2 separate regions of the Homo sapiens genome follow, and region 1 is linked to region 2. The links are contacts of gene promoters, found by promoter capture Hi-C in human tissues and cell types (Jung and others, 2019). All regions are on one chromosome and are shown on one strand. Each heading gives the region's core, a stretch centred on a gene start or on the middle of the fragment in contact. The rest is flanking DNA. Distances are from core to core; before and after follow the strand shown. Region 1 overlaps LOC105374843 (a long non-coding RNA gene). Region 2 holds the start of ATOH8 (atonal bHLH transcription factor 8).

Evidence for each region. The method cuts DNA at HindIII sites, captures the fragments that hold promoters and counts their contacts. A contact is called where the count stands out against the background at its distance.
Region 1: a fragment that was not itself captured here is called in contact with the fragment with the promoter of ATOH8 in region 2 in 1 of the 25 tissues and cell types used here (liver).

The regions. Positions count from the first base shown.
Region 1 is chr2:85,987,516-85,992,869 of GRCh38, reverse strand. All of the region lies in intron 2 of LOC105374843 (a long non-coding RNA gene), which reads left to right. Among named protein-coding and RNA genes, the nearest start is that of ST3GAL5-AS1, 100 kb to the right of the region's middle. The HindIII fragment of the contact is 4,251 bases long and covers 1-4,107 here.
Region 2 is chr2:85,751,152-85,756,748 of GRCh38, reverse strand. ATOH8 (atonal bHLH transcription factor 8) reads right to left here and starts at 2,758. Exons shown (of 3, transcript NM_032827.7): 1 at 1,792-2,758. The coding sequence starts at 2,559. The HindIII fragment of the contact is 12,393 bases long and covers 1,005-5,597 here.

The DNA of each region.
Region 1 (5,354 bases), core at 733-3,232, 240 kb before region 2:
CTGGGAAGTCAACTTTTTGGCCAAGTGGGTGGGCCTGGCCAGGACATTTGGGATGAATAGCAGAGCCACAGCTGGGGTATGCAGGAGAGGTTGTGGGCAGAGAGTAGATGGTCTCAGAAGAGTCAGCTGTTCCCTCAGGAATTAATGACTGTCAGGCTGTTTTCCAGTTTTTGGTGTTGGGGAGAAAATCTTTGGGTCAGTCTAGAATACCCTTGCAATCATGAACTTCATTTGAGCCTGACCCAAAAATGTGTCTGATGAGTCGTCTTTTTTTTTTTTTTTTGAGATGGAGTCTCACTTTTGTTGCCTAGGCTGGAGTGCAATGGCACGATCTCAGCTCACTGCAACCTGCGCCTCCCAGGTTCAAGCAATTCTCCTACCTCACCCTCCCAAGTAGCTGGGATTACAGGTGCCTGACACCATACGCAGCTAATTTTTGTATTTTTAGTAGAGACGGGGTTTCGCCATGTTGGCCAGGTTGGTCTCGAACTCCTGACCTCAGGTGATCCACCTGCCTCAGACTCCCAAAGTGCTGGGATTACAGGCATGAGCCACTGCGCCTGGCCTGATGAGTCATCTTAAAAAGTCCTCTCATCAGACAGATTTTTATGAACTGACGAGAAAAGATGTCCCAGGTAGAGTCAAGTGAAAGAGGCACAGTGAGTAACAGACAGCACAGTGTGGGTATGCGCACACTTGGCCACACACTTGCACAGAAACACAGACGAAATCTGGAAGAATGTACTAAGAACTGGAAACACCGAGTGTATCTGGAAAGCAAAATGATGTGTGAATTTTTGACTTCTAAAATAAGAATGCTGGCCGGGCATGGTGGCTCACACCTGTAATCCCAGCACTTTGGGAGGCCGAGGCAGGTGGATCATTTGAGGTCAGGAGTTTGAGACCAGCCTGGCCAACATGGTGAAACCCTGTCTCTACTAAAAATACAAAAAAGTTAGCCAGGTGTGGTGGTGCGCACCTGTAATTCCAGCTACTCGGGAGGCTGAAGCAGGAGAATTGCTTGAACCTGGGAGGCAGAGGTTGCAGTGAGCTGAGATCTTGCCACCGCACTCCAGCCTGAATGGCAGAGTAAGACTCTGTCTAAAAAAAATTAAAAACTAAAAAATAAAATGAAATAAGAATGTACATCCATCTCTTGATTTATGTGGTCAGTCCTAAAATGTGTCCATTCACTCAAAATGCTTACTGCAAAACTTCAGAATGAAGATTCTCATACAAAATACGGAAAACGTGAGTGGTATGTTCCAGTTGATGGAAAACAACATATTCAGACTGTCCTTTTTGTCATCTATTAAATGTAGCCAGTAAACAACCCATAAAAATATATATTAATGATTATCAGGAAACAAAAAGTCCCCAGGCAAAGACTAATGAAGTGGCAGGTGGTGTGGCCAGCCTATGACCACGAACTATGTGTTCCTCTATTTTCTCCATTTTAGAAAATCTTGTTTCCAAAATGTTTGTCATGGGTGACGTTTCAGTCTTTGTCCTTTTAAAAATGTTGTGGCTCTGTTGTTTGATAAAGTGACATTTGATTGAAAGATGAAGACGGAGGCCATTTCTCTAAGGGCTGGCAACTTTTGATGATAAATATTTGGCCATGTATTCACCCAGGGCCTCCCAAGGGTATGACTTGCTAGTTGCTAGTCACATAGCCCTACAAGGTAAACCCTGAGAAATGCATGTCACAGAGTGTCATCTCAGACCACCTGGAGGATGCAGTCCCCAGGCTAAGGAAGCCCAAGGCTGGCTGAGAGTTCACTTCACATCACGTGGTACATTTGCTTGTCTCCAGGTCACATGCCTGAACTTCCTGGTCAGAAAAAGGCCCCAAAAAAGTGGGCAGGCAGGTTATTCCAAAACAAGCTTCTATATCTTTTATTTTATTATTTATTTATTTATTTTCAGAAAAAGCCTCGCTCTGTCGCCCAGGCTGGAGTGCAGTGGCGCGATCTCAGCTCACTGCAACCTTCACCTCCCAGGTTCAAGAGATTCTCCTGCCTTAGCCTCCCGAGTAGCTGGGATTACAGGCATGCGCCACCACGCCCAGCTAATTTTTGTATTTGTAGTAGACACAAACACCATGTTGGCCAGGCTGGCCTAGAACCCCTGACCTCAAGTGATCCACTCACCTCGGCCTCACAAAGTACTGGGATTATAGGTGTGAGCCACCGCCTACATATTTTAAAGGAATTAATTTCTTTAATCATTTTTTCTAAAATGTGTATACATTAATCTTGAGTGAACTGGTTAATCAGTAACAGTCCTACTTAACAAAATTTTAAAAGGAGAAGCTCAGGCTCCTGGGTGTCCATGTTTTCATTAGTTGATTTGTTCATTTAGTCACCCAGCTTTGGCTCATTACTGACTGTGATGCTCTAGACCCCATCCTGGAAGGGTGCAGAAGGCATGATGGCACGTAAGCCAAGGCCCAAACCACCAGCACACGCCTCATCCTCTCATCGACTCACAAAACACAAACTCAAAGAGAAAATCATTAAAAATTTCAAGATAAGCCAGGCACAGTGGCTCACGCCTGTAATCCCAGCACTGTGGGGGGCCAAGGCGGGTAGATAACCTGAGGTCAGGAATTTGAGACCAGCCTAGCCAACATGGTGAAACACTGTCTCTACTAAAAATACAAAAATAGCCGGGCATGGTGGCAGGTGCTTGTAATCTGAGCTACTTGGGAGTCTGAGACAGGAGAATTGCTTGTACCTGGGAGGCGGAGGTTGCAGTGAGCCGAGACTTTGCCATTCCCCTCTAGCCTGGGCAACAAGAGCGAAACTCCATCTCAGGGTAAAAAACATTCAAGATAATCAACTCAGAGCATTAAACCCCAAACGTGAGGCCTTTTAAGTGAGGGCCTCACACTGGTCTCAAACATGACCAGCCCTGCTTTATGTTATAATTATCCTTGCACATTGTGTAAGTCAAACCTCCTCAATATAATCAGTGTTTCCCTGAAGGCAGCTCATTCCAGGGCTGGCCCACGAGATGCCGTTTGGTGATATGTGAACAGGCATTTTAAACATTTTAATAGTTTAGTATTGATTTTGATGTGCATTAGAAAAATATGTGATTATCACATTCCATCTATTAAGATAATTGCACAGGGGTACATAGACTCCCTTAGGAGCAAACTTACTGCAGGTAAAAAAATTAGTTACTCTAAAGAAAAATATTAAGTATTTGCTGGGCACAGTGGCTCATGCCTGTCATCTCAGCACTTTGGGAGGCTGAGTCAGGAGGATTGTTTGAAGCCAGGAGTTTGAGGCCAGCCTGCGCAACAAAGCAAGTTCTTGTCTCTAAAAAATGTTTAATAATTAGCCAGACCTGGTGGCACATGCCTGTAGTCCCAGCTACTCTGGAGGCTGAGGTGGGAGGATCGCCTGAGCCCTGGAGGTTGAGGCTGCAGTGAGCTATGATGGCACTATTGCACGCTAGCCTGGGCGACAGAGTGAGACCCCTTCTAAAAAATAAAAGTATTAAGTAAATGATAGTACCTGTAGCGAAATATGGGAAGATGGTACTCAGAGTTTGAGAAATACTACCCAAGACTGTGAGTTCTTTAAGGTGTGGAAGGCATGGGGGCAGCTTAACACTATGCTTGGTGGGTCAATCAGCAGGGGTAGACCTCTTGCTCACCCCTGATCCAGCATCCCAGCGCAGAAATGGTGATATCCCTGGGGGTCTACCGTCCCCCATGGGTTGGGGCAGCAGGCCCATGGAATAGGGAGATGCCCGGCCCAGCACACTGACTCAGCAGCTATAACTCAACATGCTGACCCAGCAGCTATAGTGGGAGGGGATCAGGGCAGCCAGTGGTCTATGGGCTCCGGGGTAGAGGGTGGGGGCCCAGGTGCCTGTGAGGGTCTGCACTGATATTGGTATCCTCGTGCCTGATGGAGCACGGACGTCAATAGAGAACAAAAAACAGGATGACATGCCGAAAGAGAGAGACCGTGGAGGAAAGGAGAAAGCTTTACATTTTAGCACTTTCAGCAACACCTTTTTCTCCCTTTTTAAACAGGGTGCCCACGGTTTCATTCTGCACTGAGCCCCACAAGTTATGTAGCATGTCCTGACCCAAAGCAGCATGTGTCAGGTCTCACTGGGCACATGTCAGGTACAGTTTCCAGGAAGCACTAGAGGATGTGTCTCCTGGTGGTTTCAGGATCCAGAGAAGCTTTGTGGTAGATGCGGCGTCTGTGTTGGGCTTTGGAGCCAGAGGCGATTAAGACCTGCAGGGCTGGGAGAAGACACACCTTGTGGAAATGCCTGGGGTGGGACACTGAGGCTCTGCCTGGAGGATTGCCAAGGTGTGGTCTGGCTGGAGCACAGGTGGGAGATGGGTCAGGAGGTGGGGATGGGAGAGAGGCCCAGGAAAAATAATCCAAGGCTGGGACGGGGCAGGATTTGGCTTCTCATGGTGTTCATACAAGTAACATGTAACAGATTCCTTTCTAAACTTTTAGAGGCCAGGGACTGAATTTTCGCAAGACATAATTTATGAGAAGAGAGTGAGACAAGCAGAGCAGGGTGTGGGGAGAGTTAAGAGCAAGCAAGGCCAGATGCGTTATCCAGGCCAAGAAAGGAGGATCGATTGCAGTTGTCTCCAAAGTTTTTTGGTTATGCACTCATAAAATATTTTTGAGCACACTCCCTAATATGTGTATCTGCTTCTGCATCAATTGTATACTTGCACAACATTATTATTTCTGATGGATGTTATAAAACAAAAGCAAAAACAGAACTTTTAAAAAGGTCATTAAAAATGAGCATAAAAGGCCTGTCAACCATCCTCCCTCTGCCCGGCAGTGGACCGTCAGCTCCTGCCTGTTGGGGATCTCCAGGCTGGCGTTGTGTCTGGAGGCAATTTGCCTGTTTTTATGTCCCCTGTGGCAGCTCGAGACTCTCTTCCCAGATCTTCTCAAGTAGATTGAGGCTGGGTCTCTGGGAAATTTATGTTTTATATGTGTGTGCAGAGCCAGGCAGATGCAAGACAGGGGTGGGGGAGGCAGATGCTGAGTTAGCTGAGTGTCAGGGAAGATCTCAGAGGGGAGTATCAGGGGACCCTCGCAACAACCCAAATTGTTGCCTCTAGGTTGTTAGGGGATGCTGAGAAATCCAGTAACTTGCCAAAGTCACACAGCTGGAGCCAGGATTTGAACCCAGGTTTGGCCAACTCCAGAATCTCCCCTTGTGAACTTTGGGTTCAGTGCCACTGTCAGTGCAGAGCTGGCCATTCCTGGATAAGGCAGGGCACTGGGACTTCTGGAATTGGCACCTTGTCCAGGAGTGCACAAGGGTGTCTCCCACAGCCACCAGGA
Region 2 (5,597 bases), core at 1,509-4,008:
ACCCACTAGGTGACCTTGGACAAGTCTCCTTCCATCTCTGGGCCTCAGTGTTCCATACTATAAAATGAGTTAATCCAATTTCGACAGGGATTATGTTTAGATCAAATGAGATGGAATTGATTGTTGAATGAAGTAAAAGTCAGTGGGCACATGAGATGTAACAAAGCACTCAGATGAGTATTCTCTCAGCATACAGAGGCAATAGAGGAGCACAAGGGCCCAGAACCTGCAGTCAAAGCCCCTAGGTGCCAGCCCTGACCTGCTACTCAACAGCTATGAGGCTCTGGGCACGTGCCTCCCCAGTCTAGGAGGGGCTTCCCTAGTGGCAAGGTGGGCAGGTGGACAGGCATCTCTCTGCCCTTCTGTTATCCTTCTGTCCTGGGGAGTGGGTTGCAGGATCCCCCACGCACCGCCACCTCTACCCAGCGATGCAGACACAGAGCTGCTGGCTCAGGGTGGGACTGACTGCTCCACTGGACCCACCGCCCAGGGTTCCAGCTGGTGTGGATGAGGGCAGAGGCCCAGCCTGGTCTGTGACAGCCACCCGTCCCCCACCCCCACCCCCACCCCACCTCACTGACCACTTTCCCCAAGCCCAAGCAAGACACTTTGGCTCAAAAGTCATAGGGCCTCTTTCCTCCAAGGATTCAATTTCCTTTCCATGGATGGACACAGGCACTACTGCCCCACCCCACCCCAACCCCCAGCAGGAAGAGGAGAGTGATCCAAAAAGAAGATCATGGTTTCTGAAATGTTTTGTTGCTGGATAAAGCCCAGAGAAGTTGAGCAACATTCCTGGAGTCACACAGCAAGTCAGCTGCAGAGTATGCAAATAAAAAGAAAAAAAAAACACCCTTCAAACCAGCCACATCTACCCTAACCCTTCCCCACGCCCTGTGTGGGGGTGGGAGAGAACTCACCACCTCCTTCCTAGAGCTCCTTCTCGCTAAGAAAATAAGAAGCCTAGAAGCCCAAGCGATTGTCCCGCCCCACCACGGGTAATTCTTGGGTTAAGTATTCTTCCGCTACCTGCGCAGGGGCACTGTCTGGTGAGGGCAGCCCGCACCAGCCCCAAACTAAAAAGTCCCGGACCCACCCCAGAACTAGGCTCTGAAGATGCTCCAGAGGGAATCCCCAACCTAGGCAGTCCCCTCGGCAGAGCTGCCTGCTTCACCACGGGTGAAAGGAAGGGATCTGCTAGAAAGACTCCCACCAGCCGATTCCTGAGCCCACCCCTGGGGAGAGGGCACAGGCTTGTAGCGCGGGTTCTTGAGGATGCCAGGGCAAGGAGTGCATAGCCCGGAAGCAACCTGAGTGTTCGGGGCATCACCGCTGGGGCCTGAAGAGGGGCTGACAACTCCCCCGGACTGTCCCACCGCAGCGTTCCGGACCTTGCCACCACCAACTGGAGAAGGCTCCCCCCTTCCTCCGCTGACAGATTCCCACATTTCCCCTCTCCACTCCGCACCGCGCCCAGGGGACTCCGGCAGGCAAATACTCGCTGCCATAAAAGTGAACTATGGAGGCTGAAGTCAGAAGCGCAGACAGCGTTACCCCCGAGGCGGGGGTTGAGGGCGGGGGGTGCTCGGGCCAGAGATAACCAACTCTTATAGCCACTTTGAAAACTATGATCCATACCCTAGGACTGCCCACACCTGTCTGGGCACCAGGGTCGGACCGGGCGGGGCAGCTTGCCCCTTAAACACACCTCTATCCCGCCCCGGCCACTCGCCCACCCATTCCCGCAGTCGTCCCCCGGCGCAGTGAGGGCGTGCGGCGGCGAGCGGGTACCTGCTTCCTGAGCGCCTCGAAGGCTGCGCTGATGGTGTGCACCCGCGTCCGCTCCCTGGCGTTCGCCAGGAGCCTCCGGGTCTGCTGCAGGGCTTTGATCTCGGAGGAGGCGGCAGTCGCTTCGCCCGGTCGTTTCCTAGGCGACGCGGAGGAATCCTGGTGGTTATTGTAAATTACGTGTGAAATTGACGAGTAGGAACTTTCCCCGGGGCGCGTCGGGGGCGCAGGGCGCACAGTGGACTCCGGGGGCGCTGGCGGTGCTGGGGGTGCTGACGGCGCGGGGCGCGCGGGCGGTGCGCACAGCAAGATGCGAGGACGCAGACCCGGCTCCCGGAAAGGCTGTGCCTCTGGGCCCCCAGGTGCCTGGCTCTGGGGCGCAGGAGGCGGCGGCGGCGGCGGCGTGGGGAGTCCTGGCCCCACTGCGCCTAGGGCGAAGCAGCGTTTCCGCGCGTCGGAGACCTCGGGCGCCCGAGAGCCCCCGCGCTCCCCGGCTGTGTCCGTGCCCCCTCTTGGGGGAACGGCCGGCGCCACTGGGACTGGCACCGGCACCGGTACCGGGACCGGCTGCAGCCGATGGGTCCTGTCCCGCAGCCCGTTGGTGGCTACGGCGCGGGGCTCGGGCGCTTCCAAGTCCAGTCGGAAAGTTTTATAGCCGTTCGCGCGCCGCGCCGGCTCCTTGCCTTTCCGCTTGAGCTTCTTAAGGCCGTTCAGCTCCTTCACGCACACGGTCTTCCACGGCCCGTCCTCGAGGACCGGGATGTGCTTCATGGCGCGGGCGGCGCGCGAGGCAGGGGCGTGGGGCTGCCCGGGCCGCCGCCGCGCTCAGCGCCGAGGAGTCTCTGGCTCTCCCGCTTCGCCCGCCCTCCCCCTCCCTCTCTCCCTTTCTCCCCCTCGCCCCGGGCAGCTGCGCCGCCGGCTTCGGGAAGCCGCCGGGCTGTCCGTTCCCGGAGCGCTCAGAGTGTCATCTGAAGTCGCTGCCTCCTTGCCAGCATTTCTGGAGAACGCCCGCTGCGCTCCATCTGTGTTTGTTTAGCCTCAGTTTACACAGAAGCCCAGTTCGCGAGATCAGTCAGCGCCGCCGCCCGGAGAGGAGGCAGCTCCCGCCGCCACCGCCTCCCCAGCCCGGGCCGCCCGAGCCGCGAGCGCCTTTAAAGAAACAGGAAGCATTTTTCAAAACAGCTGGGCCGCCGGCCGCCTCCTTTGTCCGCGGGCTCCCTACCTCCCCCCCACCCCCATCCCCTTGGCCCAGAACCTGCCTCCTCCGGCGCTCCCTCCCCGCCCCTACTCTAGTCGGGGGCGCTTCTATGTTCCCAGAGGACAGTCCGCTCCTGCACAACCGCCCCGAGCACGTGACTTATGGGCCCCCGGCCCTTCCCCAAATCACAGCGGGGCCTTTTCTCCCTGGCCTTGCCGGCCTCTCGGTGACGCAGCTCCGACCTTGCCCACCCGGCACCTTCCCGCCGCTCCCTCCGCCCCAACTCGCCACGAGACAGAAAACGCCGGGAGCTGGGACTTCTGCTGGGGGCCGATGGGGAAGGGGAGACTCCGGAGTTGCCCGGCGACCCACACCCGCCCGGCACGGCAACCCAGTCCACTCTCACTTGCTGGAGCGGGAAAGCAAGAGGAGCAGAGGGCTTAAGACAGGGAAACTGAGTTTCCGAAAGCTCCAAAGTCACGCAGCAAGTCACAGAGGCAGAGGAGGGTGGAAGCTTCGGATTTAGGCAGACCTAACGTCTGCGAGCCTCCGCAGTCACCTCACTCCAGGCGCCCTGCTAAACCGGGATTTACTCATCTGTGAAATGAGAAATTCGGAGAACAACGCCTAAGTCACAGCATTGCTCTGAGGAATTAAAGCACTAGGCACATAGGAACGGGTCGTCAAATGGTAGCTGTGGTTGTTGTTAGTATTATTTATTGAGGCAAAACAGCTACTTGAGGCAGATTTCCTGGGCTCAAACCCCAGCTCTGCCACTCACTGAATGACCTTGGGAAAGTCACTTAACCTCTCTGTGCCTCCCTTTCCTCACCTGTAAAACGAGGGTCATAATCGTACCTTCCTCCCCAGGCGGTGTGAAAAGCGTGTATGCGCAAGGCACTCAGAGCAGTGCCTGGCACCAGGTGAGAGCTTTGCAGGTGCCCACGGTTATTGGCAAGGGGCAGAGGTAGACCCCCCAGACCCTCAGTCATCAGTGCCATTCCACTGGAGATTCTGGAAAGAAGGGGTCAAACTAGTAGGCCCTCAGATGTCCTTGCCAGAGGACTGCTTCCCAGCCGCTCCCTTCCGAGGCTCAGAACAGGGCTTCACTCCTTGCTGGTCCCTTCTCTGTGACTGTTACTCCTTAAGGAAGGTGGACACTAAAAGCCAGCAAGGTGGTTTGGGAGAAGATGGACCCTTGACCCTGGCCTTGAACTCTGATGAAAACACAAGGGCTCACACAGAGTGGAGTGCTTCTCTCCTCCATGGGAGAATGCCTAGGGGTGGAGGAGGCAGATGGCACGCAGGGTGCTGGGAGGTGGGATGGGGATCTGGGCATAGCTTTGGGGGCAGGAGCATGGAGCTCCAGCCAGCAGCCCCGGTTGAGCCTTGGTTTGTCAACGACGGAACCCCATGACCACGAGCAAGACGTTTCCTCCCACCGTCACTCTTTTCTGTCTTTGAGGATATTTCCAGCCAACCTTCTCAGGGTAGCTGGGAAAGGACAAAGAGATGGATGTCAAAGGACTTTGACATAAGACTTCAAACATAGACACACACACACACACACACTGAGGCATGCAGTTTTCTGAATATAGTAAATGCAAAATCTCATTTTGCCACCAAGGTGGGTGCCAGCATCATAAAGCATGTGCTCCCGGAGACATCGTCTTCCCTGGACACCTGCATATTCCTGCACCTTATCTCTGTCCTGGAGACCAGGTGTGTGCTGCCAAAGAGGAGCCCTCATTCTCCTGTCGTTTCCCTGCTCAGCCTCGAACCCTAAAGTTCTGGCCTTTGCTCCCAGGTCTCCCACGGCTCCCCTTTGCAACGCACACTCTTCCTCACCCTTCGATGAACAGCTCCGGTCCCCCTCCTCCCGCGAACCTTCCCTGCTCACCATAGCCTCCAATTGCTCTTGCTGGCCTGTGTGCATGCTTGCTCAAAAGTCCTGCTGCAACTTAGCCTCCACTGCAGCCCTGTTGGAACTCCTGGGCTTGTGCGTTCCTCAAAGGCGCACTCTTGCCTTCCTCCCTGTCTCTAAAGGCTGGTGCTCAGGAAACCTCTGATAAGGACAAGCAACCCTCGTGCCCTTTACACTCCTGTCTGGAGACCCAGTCCTCCTGTGCATCCAGCCAGTCAGTGGCAGAGATGGAGGAAAAGTGACACTCCTTCTCCAGGGCTGCTCAGGTACTCTCTGAGCTTCAGTAGCTTCCTCTGTAAAACGGGAGTAATGATACCGTGCCTCACACGGCTGCAAGGACTCAAAGACGCAGCATGTGCAGCATGTGGCATGATGCCTAGAGTCTAGGGAATGGTGACCTTGGGCATCCTGGGTCAGCCAGCTGCTAAGGCCCCCTTGCATCCCAGACTTGGGTGTAGCTGAAGACTGGGGTGCCCGTGGCTGGTGAGGTTGTGTGAGAAGTCTCTAGCAGGACTGAATTTTGTCCTTAAAGAGGCCAAGCTGTGTCTGGGAAAATCACATCTTGGCTGAATACCAAAGGATCCACTCATACTGATCCTAAGCCCCGTGCCAACTTCCCCCCAAATAGAGGAGAAGGTCACCGAGATCCCATGGGGCAGGAGGAGGCGAAGGGATTGGATAGGAATG